Linked DNA regions of Homo sapiens: region 2 is linked to region 1. Evidence: promoter capture Hi-C in 16 types of primary human blood cells and fetal thymus (Javierre and others, 2016). All regions are on one chromosome and are shown on one strand. Each heading gives the region's core, a stretch centred on a gene start or on the middle of the fragment in contact. The rest is flanking DNA. Distances are from core to core; before and after follow the strand shown.

Region 1 (4,661 bases), core at 1,528-4,027:
TTGACACCAGAACTATGGGAGTGCCATCCTTGCTGTGGCTACCTGGCATCACAGTGAGAGCTCCTGTTCTCACTGGAAGATTGAATCACTTCAGAAGCAGAAGAGTGTGTGCTGGAACACAGCACAATTTTGCATACAGAAACAATGCTCTTTCACATCTAGTCAACGAGTTCTGCACATTCCATCTCCTAGCCACCTCAAAATCCATCTTTCCTCCTTGCCTTCTCTACCTGGGGTCAGAATCTCATCTGGGTCACTTCAATAGGCTCTGAACTAGTCTCCTCTACAGTCGGGATTTCTGGCCCATCCTGCACATTATGGAGATCTATCTGTCACCAGCTCAATATCACTATCATCACCAAAGACCTGAAATAACAATGTTCAGGAGAGACCTTAACAGCCCCACACCTCTACTGGGTGGAGCTTCAGGACAGCCATGTCTTCTGACTTCTAGTCTGGTCCGCACTTTTTTTTTTTTTTTTTTTTTTTTTTTGAGACAGTCTCGCTCATGTTGCCCAGGATATAGTGCAGCAGCGTGATCTCGGCTCACCGCAACCTCCGCCTCCTGGGTTCAAGTGATTCTCCTGCCTCAGCCTCCTGAGCAGCTGGGATTATAGGCACCCGCCATTACACCTGGCTAATTTTTGTATTTTTAGTAGAGACGGGGTCTCACCATGTTGGCCAGGCTGGTCTCGAACTCCTGACCTCAAGTGATCTGCCCTCCTCGGCCTCCCAAAGTGCTGGGATTACAGGCCAGCTTGGTCCGCACTTTTCTCATTGGTTGCCTTTTATGTCAGCATGGCTGTCAGCTAAATGGGAGAATGAATATAACTGATACCATTTATATATGAAGGTCAGCAGTGGAGGGGAAGGAAGTTAAAGGGAATAAACAGCAGGTATGAAATCATCTCACCACCTTTAATAACTGGTGTAGTACCCATTTTCTTCTCTTCTTCTTCTCCCTTTTCGAGGATGGTGTTGAAAGTGTTGAAAGTGGAGCAGTCAGGGTACTTCCTTCTCAAATCATCACACTTCTTTCTTCTTTACCACACTTCCTAGCCATAATCTTCACCATTTAAGAGGAGGGGACTCTTCAAACCCTTTCCATATCGAAATCTTAGAATGCAATTGTGAAACTGCACTTGACTTCCCAGATATTTGAGGAAGCTTCCTGGTTCTTGCTTTATAATCATGATCTACCACCCTTACCATCCTTCCCTGAAATTTCCCTATCTAAAACAACGACAACAAAACCTGTTACAGATATTTTTGTAAGTAGCCTTAAATTCTTTTAAAAGTATTATTATTTTTTTTATAGAGACAAGGTCTATGTTGCCCAGGCTGGTCTCAAACTCCTAAGCTCAAGCAATCCTCCCACCTCAGCCTCCCGAAGTGCTAGGATGGTAGGCTGAGCCACCGTGCCCAGCCTTAAATTCTCTTTTAAGACAAGGCAAAAGTATGTGTTAATCAAGTTAGAATTCAGGTGACCATTTGTCTCAGTTTGCCTAGGACAGTCCCAGTTTATGCCTATTCCCTTGTGTAACTTTTAAAAGAGCTCCTCCTTTTACTCTTAAAAAAAAAAAGGTCCAGTTTGGAGGATAAATTATATGCTGACCCTAGTTTAAAACACACTTTGATTTTCTAACATAGTGTTTTCCAGGTGATATTATGCTTTTGCCCACATCATTGCATTTTATTTACATAACTACTCTGCGAAGCAGGAAGGGAAATACTTGATCGCTATTAAATAAAGGAGGTAATCAAGGCTTCGAGGGGTACAGTGGTGACTGAGGTCACACACTCAGGGCCAGAACCTAGGATTCCTGACTTCAAGTCTAAAACTGTTTCAGCTGTGGATCACTATGTGCAAATGTCTGAGTAAAGGCAAACTTCACTCTCCTTTGGTGATCTGCTTGGCACTGGACTTAGAAGTTTAGATACGTTCATCCTTGCACAGAGACTGTTCTTCCACATATAAAGCAAGCAAAGAGATGGAAGAAGAATTATTAGCTAAACAAAAAGAGGCTGTTAGTGAATCCTGGGCCAAAGAATATATTTTACCAGGTCTAATTACATCAGATTACTTGAATCTTACATCTGGCCAAATTAGGATATTTCCATTTAAGAAAAGAAAACCAAAGATCAATAATGCATGCCTACTCTTGCAAAGAATGCAAAGAACATATAAATGGGTTCTGGTCAGTCTTATAGATATATTTTCCTATAATTACACACTAATTCTTTCTTAAAAATATTTCCCAAAACAGCAAAATTCTACCCTCCTTGGTAAGCAGCAAAGGGACAACACGGGAAACAAAACAAAACAAAACAAAACAAAACAAAACATAAAAACCCTAGACCATTTAAAGACAAGCATGGTGCTTTGTAAAATCTTCGGGGTATCACAGAGGTGCTGAATGCGTGGTTACATCAATGAAAAAACGCCCACTCTTTGAGCCTCCTGAAAAGGAGGCCACAGGACCCCCGGGCGCCAGGGCTTGGGAACCCAGCGCCCCTCCTTGTCTGTGCCATGACAGACAGGTTCAGTGTGACTTGCCAAGGATGGCTCCAAGCAGCTGGGCCATGTAGCCTGAACGCAGCAGAGGGTTGGACGCCTTAGAGCCAGCTGTGGGCACCACAGCCCGACCAGGGAGGCAGCGGGTCTCCCCAGGTTAAGAGGCCAGCGGAGGACGCGCGCGGTCTCCTTGGGGGAGGGTGCGGGTGGGCCGGGCGCGCATGCGCATGGGCGCCATCGCCCGCCGGAAGAGCGGCAGCCCAGGCGCTGCTGCTGGCGCCAGACGGCACCGGCCGCTGGTAGAGCGCGTGCCGCGAGATGCGGCCTCAGGACAGCACCGGGGTCGCGGAGCTCCAGGAGCCCGGGCTGCCGCTAACGGACGATGCACCCCCGGGCGCCACTGAGGAGCCGGCGGCCGCCGAGGCAGCTGGGGCGCCAGACCGCGGTAGGTGCTGGCTCTGCCTTTCCTCGCCGTGTTGCTCCCGCACCGAGCCGGGTGAGTGCGCGGTGTGGATCGGGCTCTGGTCTCGCTCGGGGGTCCCGAGCGGGCGCCGGCGGGTTGGGGTCCCCGCAACCCGGGCACAGTGCCCGCCGCGCCTCCGTCCCCACCCTGCCCGGGGCTCGGGAAACCCCTCGAGCTGTCAGCTGGGGGGCTGCAAAGCGGAATTCCCGGCGCCCCAGCCGGCGCTAAGACGGAAGAAACTTTCCGATTGTTAGCAGTCCTTTTGGGATTCCGAGGCTGCTCCTGTAATTAGTGTCGGGGCAGGGCTGTGGAGTCAGACTGCAGTTTGGCGTACCCTCCCCTAGGTCGTAGGTGGGGGGTCAGCGAGAGAGGCCATCCTGCAGTGGGGCGACGTTGCGAGGAAGCTGACCCTGAAAAGTGATCCCGGTGGTTAAGGGTTCTCTCCGAAAAGGAAGCTGAAAAGCATCGAGTCTAGAAAAAATGTTCGTCCTAGAGTTTTAGAATCTTGGAAAGGCAGAGATAAGTGGGACCGCTAGTTTTTAACCTTTAGGGATACAAGGACTTTTTAGCAAACGATGCAGAACAAGGCATATCTTGTTAAGAAGCTCACAGCCCCGTCCCCAAAGTCAGGGACCCCTCGTGAAGAACACTTTATGTTCAGTCCCCCTCCTTCGACACATGAGCAAAGTGAGGCCCAGGAAGGTGAGGGCTTTTGGGTTTTCGTTTGCTTTGTCTCCTCCAAGATGTGGAACGTGGGGGTGAGATGGGGCGCATGTCCAGGGAGCACCAGGGTTAGGATCCCAGCTTGCCATATACCGGCCTAGGGCCCTTTCCACTGGCCACAAGTGCTGCTTCAAGCACATTCCTCTTAGAAGTCGACCATCTACCAGGAGCAGCTTCCTGCAAGAAGAAGGGAATAGGCAGATCTCTTTTTAGGACAGTTACACGGCCTGCACCACCTTGTCCTCTGGGTCACCTCCCCTAAGTGTGACCCTGGATTTCTGTTCCTCTCCTCTCACTGCGCTTTCCCCTCCTCCCTTTGTGCACTTTCCCCAAGTTAGAGAGACAGACTCTAGGAAGACTATTCTTGCTCCATTTCTGTCCTAAAGGCAAACCGAAATGATCAGACTTGTGATCATTTATAAATGGGCTGGTGCCTCTAGAACAGGGGTTATGCCAGGCTGAATTGAACAGATAAGCAGCCTTTGAAAAGGTCAGTTTCTCACCTATCACCCTCTGGGTGAATGTCCTTCTGGTGGCATGCCGAATCAGTCCATGCAAACTCTTAAAGTTTCCCCTTTTTGTGAATGGAAGAGGAATTCTCTACTCCCAGGCAGCTCATGGCAAGATGAGAAACTTACGTGAGTGTATCTAAGAATCTTGTGGGTGTTTAACTTCAAAGAAAGTTTCTACCAGTAAGACTTAGTTATTGTAAGGTGACAAGATAATATTTTGGAAAGAAAATTGACATAAAAACACTTTACTGTTGTCATTGAACTTTGTGACACCTCTTGTTCTAACTGCTTATCTCAACAAAGCTTTTTTCAAGTTCTGGTTGGAACTGTTACCCATATGTCTTACATTCTTGGATGACCTTAACAGACACATACAGCTGTCCCAAGACATCTCCTTACTTTCTTCAGGGACAGTGTGGGTCTTACACTGAAGCAAGGAGAAGTAGTT
Region 2 (4,991 bases), core at 1,054-3,553, 3.0 Mb before region 1:
TAGACGAGAGACTATCTGTGAACTGTTTGTGATCAGTAAATAAGAGAAATTGATGGGTGAAGCATGTGGGTGGGCTCCTGTAATCACAGCTAGGAGAGAGGATTGCTTGCGTTAGAGTCCATCCTGGTCAATAACGAGATACTCTCTCTAAAAACAAAACAAAACGAAACGAAAACTCAGCAGGCCACCAACTAGGATACTCCCTAGGTCAAATGACCGAGCCTCTAATTCTGTGATTGTTGTTGCTGTGCGCACGTTAATAAAACAAACAAACAAACAAAAAGTGAAGATGTTTAGAAAGTTTACAGTACTTTGGCATTGTCCTGATAATCCAAGCTCCTGATCAGCAGATTCTATTCAGCCAGGTATAGGGCAGTTCGAGTGTTGTCAAATTTGTGATTCCCATGAGGCCAGGCTGCTTACTGGTAATGCATAAAGGACCACATCCTGGTTCGCGAAGAGTTTGGGGGTAGAGGAAAAGGAGGGAGAAACTGATCCTTCATCACAGGTAGTTTGAGAGCACTGATGTAAACTATAGTCACACTTTTGTAGTATAATTGATTATTATCCTCAATAGATCATTTACACTAAGTCGGAAAAAAGTGGAAACATCAGATATGTGGGATATGCGTCACCTTGTACATTTCTCAGCTGGAAAAGTGTAAAACATCTCAATTTTGCACCTCCCTTTTCAAACATGTCTTTGGCTAAATCAATGTTGGCTCTAACCGCTCGTCCTAGAGCGAGTCCCGCCATCTTGTGGTTGAAGATGTTGACTGCCACAGAGAATAGCGGGCTTTGACATCAACAGTTCTGATTGGGTAAAAAGACCCTCGTCTTGGGGTAGTTCTCTTTTGAAGTCCTAGAGTCCGTCACACACAAACGCCTTCTTCCCGGTAAGTCCATTGTAAACAACGGAATGGACTTTAGGGAAAGGAAAGGAAAACGTGTTCTTTAAGACTCTTTAAATAGCGTTTTCACCCATTAGCAGAATTCTCTGATTCATGAGCAGCACTAAGTAGATACCGTGTGCGTGCATTTTGAATGAATTCATTTCTACACTATTTTATAGGAGTATTGAATAGTTGGGAATTGGAACCCCTCCAGGGGGAACCAAACATTGTCGTTCAGAAGAAGACAAAGAGAGATTGAAATGAAGCTGTTGATTTCAACACACAAATTCTGGTGGTAGATGAAAGCAAAGCAAGTAAGTTTCTCCGAATCCCTAGTCAACTGGAGGTAGAGACGGACTGCGCAGGTTAACTACAGCTCCCAGCATGCCTGAGGGGCGGGCTCAGCGGCTGCGCAGACTGGCGCGCGCGGACGGTCATGGGACTTCAGCATGGCGGTGTTTGCAGATTTGGACCTGCGAGCGGGTTCTGACCTGAAGGCTCTGCGCGGACTTGTGGAGACAGCCGCTCACCGTGAGTTGCCCCGGCTTCGCGCCTGGCCAACCTCATGCCACCCAGACCATCGGGCCACACTCCGGAGTAACTATTTCCTGATGGGTCTCGGTCAGGTCTCCCAGAGTCTCTGGGATGTCCCTGGAGGCTGATGCCCGCCGAGGTGTTGGTCTGATTCCTAGCGCGGGAAACTCGAAGGTTCTGGGGGTTGTTATCTGGTTCAGCTACTTTCCTGCAATGAGGGAACTGAGGCCTAACGAGGGCGAGGGATTTGCATAGGGGCCTACAGCTGATAGGTGACAGAAGCCGGAGCTGGACTCCAAGGGTACAATCTTCTAAGCTTCTAAGTTACTATCAGCCCTTCCTGATTCTCACGACAGTGTCTAAACAAATACTGGAATTTGGGGCACGGACAGGAAGCGCCGTGGAGGCTCGGAGAAGGAGGAGGACGTGGGAGTGTTGGAACAATACTATCTAGACAGAGAGAGGGTAGGTGGGGGCAGAGGACATACACAGCGGAGTGGAGGTGGAGGAGGAGGATAGCATGGCCCAAATCGAAGGGAAGCGAAAGCCTTGAGAGACGAGAACCTGTTTTAACTATTGGAGTTAGTCATGGGTTCTGTATTCCGTAGACTGTAAAGTGTTGGAATAGAGAGATTAAAAAGAATCAAGAGGTTCGTGTAGTAACATCTGCTCCTCAGAGACAGTTTTCAGCTCATTGTGAGTTCTGATTACTGATACTGTTCAGAGGTGGTGCTAGAAATGACAACCACTTCTTGGCAAAGTGAATCACACCACTTTTTTATTGTTCTCTTTATGAAGTATCCGTGGCGAAATGACTGTCCCTTTCCACTGCTGCCACTAAATGAACGTTATCTCTGTGGTACTTTGCTCATCAGCACGAAGACGAAAGTAGACATGATGATCTGGGCCATTTGGCGCTAATGTTCTTTGATCCTGTAAAATAAGTTTTCCTAGGTGTAGTTTGTCGCAATTATTACCTCCTCAATGAGGCTTTTCCTGACGCCATCCCATTTTTGAATAAATCATGAGCTTCCTAAGAGAATTGCCATGTCTTATCCTTTTATTTACTGTGCTTAACACGTTCACTCTGCAGGCACCAGTACATGGCAGTTACTCAGTTAATGCTTGTGGAATAAACTGAACACATTAAAAAAATTAATACAAAAAAGAAAAGTTAATAATGATTTCTTTAGAGAATTTCCCCCAGTTTAAAATACACTTGGAAGAGGTGTGGTAATATATGTACATTGTTAGTGGTTATTTGTTTGTAAATTAAATGGAATTCATGGCATATAAAGTTGCCTCAACTTACAAGTCAAAGACAAAGGACTGCTCTGCTATTTGATGAGTCTGGAACTAAATAGTGGACATTTGCAAAGAATAGGAAAGACAGAGCCCTGGTTCTCAGTTTCTGATGTGATACAAGAAACCAATAATAAGCTTCAGAAATATACTGTGTAAATTAAAATACCCTAAAGCCTGATTGGGGAAGTAAGTACTCCTAAGCTGCCAGATGAGGAGTAGTCTAGGAAAAAGTTTTGTGGAGAAACAGATCCTAGTTGACATTTCTGTAGAACGGTAGGGACATTGTTTAGTAGCCAAAAGGATATCCTAAATGGGTATAACAAGGAAGTTTAGAGCAGATTTGGGAGTGTGGTAAAGAAGAATAGGGAGGAGGTGTGGCTGGTTGATTTGACTAACTGGGTGCAAGGTGAAGCCCAAGGTACAGGCATACTTGTGATTTTTTTTTTGTTTTTAAGGGTAACTTTCTTCAGGGAGCCTTTTGTGACCCCTACACCAGGTTTCACTGTGCTATGTACTTCCATAGAATCCTTACTTATAAAAAACATGTATTTATATACAATGACTTGCTTAATTGCCTTATTTGCCTTCGTTCTCCAACAGACTAGGCTGTAAATTTCTTGTGGAGAAGGATTATATTATTTATCCTGTATGCTCAACACCAGTTTAGGGCTTGTCAAGTAATGGATGCTCAGTAAATATTTGAGGGAGGAAGGGAAGAAGGAAGTTGGACAAACTGTTGAGAGTTTGGCATTGATATGTATTTTAATGTTAATATCCTTTCATCCCCATTGGTATTTTTAAAAATTAAAGATGGGAGTCATGATTTAGATTTTTTTTTGGTAGCCCAAATGTCCAGAACAGTGCTAACTGATGAGGATAATAAAGCAAGCCCTTGACCTCAAGGAGCTCCCAGTCTGTCGATGGTGTGCAGCTTAAAATGGGAAGCGGGCAGTGGTGTGAGGGAGTTATCACTCCATTTCTCCTTAGGAAAGGAGTCTCTGAAGGAAGTAGAAGGATAAAAAGCAAAAGAAATGAACGGGAATAAAAGTGACAGTGATAAAGTAGGAACTTGATGGGATAAAAATGAATATAGGGTCATGAAAGAGAATGACATTTGAAAAGGAGAAGCACAAAGTTAAGAGTCTTTAGTATCATTTTAATAATAATTCATAATGGTTAAACAAAGACCTGTGTGCCAGGCACTGTTCTCAAACACCTCATGTGTATTATTTCATTTAAATTTCATGACAGTGTATGAAGAAAGTGTTGTTATTTTCACCATTTGACAGATGAGGAACCTGAAACTTCATGTTAAGTAACTTGTAAGTGGTAGTGCATAGACTTTAAATCAGGCAGACTGACACTAGAGTTCACATTCATAACCACTCCTCAAATGTCCTCCTACTCTTGACATCTAGACTCAGGATGGACCTGTGTTACAGGAAGGAGAGGTTGTTATATTTAACAAAAGTGTTCAATTTTTCTTTTTCAGTTGGCTATTCAGTTGTTGCTATCAATCATATCGTTGACTTTAAGGAAAAGAAACAGGTAAAATAATATTTCTAAAGTTAATAAGTTCATAAATAAGTATTTGTAATTCTGTTTGTATTGGTAATTTGGAAGCTACAGATTAGAATATTTCTTAAATGCACCCCTTTGTGCACTACTACTTTTCTATTTTATATAGAAACAGTCGAGCTGATGCATATTTATACAATGATGATTTTTGTGAGGTAATATGACATAGTGTTCAGGATTCTTAAAGGTGATTTGAAATTAAGTTACTTTTCACTGTTCAAAAAGTGCATTGTTATTGGCTGGACTGTAATCAAAATATTTAGTCCTTTTTATTCTATTGTCATGGGCTTATTAACTACTTTCTCTCTTAAACATTACTAATAAGTATGTATATTTCTCTTTAGGCCAACAACTGTATCCTGTAGATTATTTCAGTCTAAAAATTAGTTTTCATTCTTCCTATTCACTGATGTTTACAGTTGCTTCTCTATTTAGCTTTCTTTTTAAAAATAATTTTTAAAAGTTTTTTTGAATACCAGAAATCACCTTGCTTTCTTTTTAAAAAAAATGCATATTTTTTCTGAGAACACCTCGTAATTTTTCCATTATGCCTTGTGCTATTAATGGATACAATCTGCAGTAACTATTTATCGTTTGTTGTAGGAAATTGAAAAACCAGTAGCTGTTTCTGAACTCTTCACAACTTTGCCAATTGTACAGGTAGGTGTTTTGTTGTTTACG

Evidence for each region. Contacts are between HindIII fragments. The CHiCAGO score rates a contact against its expected background, and 5 or more counts as called.
Region 2: a contact is called between a fragment that was not itself captured here and the fragment with the promoter of SLC35G1 in region 1, in 1 of 17 cell types (non-activated CD4 T cells). The highest score is 5.1, in non-activated CD4 T cells.

What each region holds. Positions count from the first base shown.
Region 1 is chr10:93,891,201-93,895,861 of GRCh38, forward strand. SLC35G1 (solute carrier family 35 member G1) reads left to right here and starts at 2,778. Exons shown (of 3, transcript NM_001134658.3): 1 at 2,778-3,011. The coding sequence starts at 2,834. RefSeq lists a silencer at 2,752-3,181. The HindIII fragment of the contact is 3,349 bases long and covers 1,166-4,514 here.
Region 2 is chr10:90,870,645-90,875,635 of GRCh38, forward strand. It overlaps RPP30 (ribonuclease P/MRP subunit p30), which reads left to right and starts at 1,330. Exons shown (of 11, transcript NM_006413.5): 1 at 1,330-1,424; 2 at 4,225-4,280; 3 at 4,914-4,970. The coding sequence starts at 1,343. RefSeq lists enhancers at 1,168-1,462, 1,181-1,450, 1,581-1,640. The HindIII fragment of the contact is 1,124 bases long and covers 1,742-2,865 here.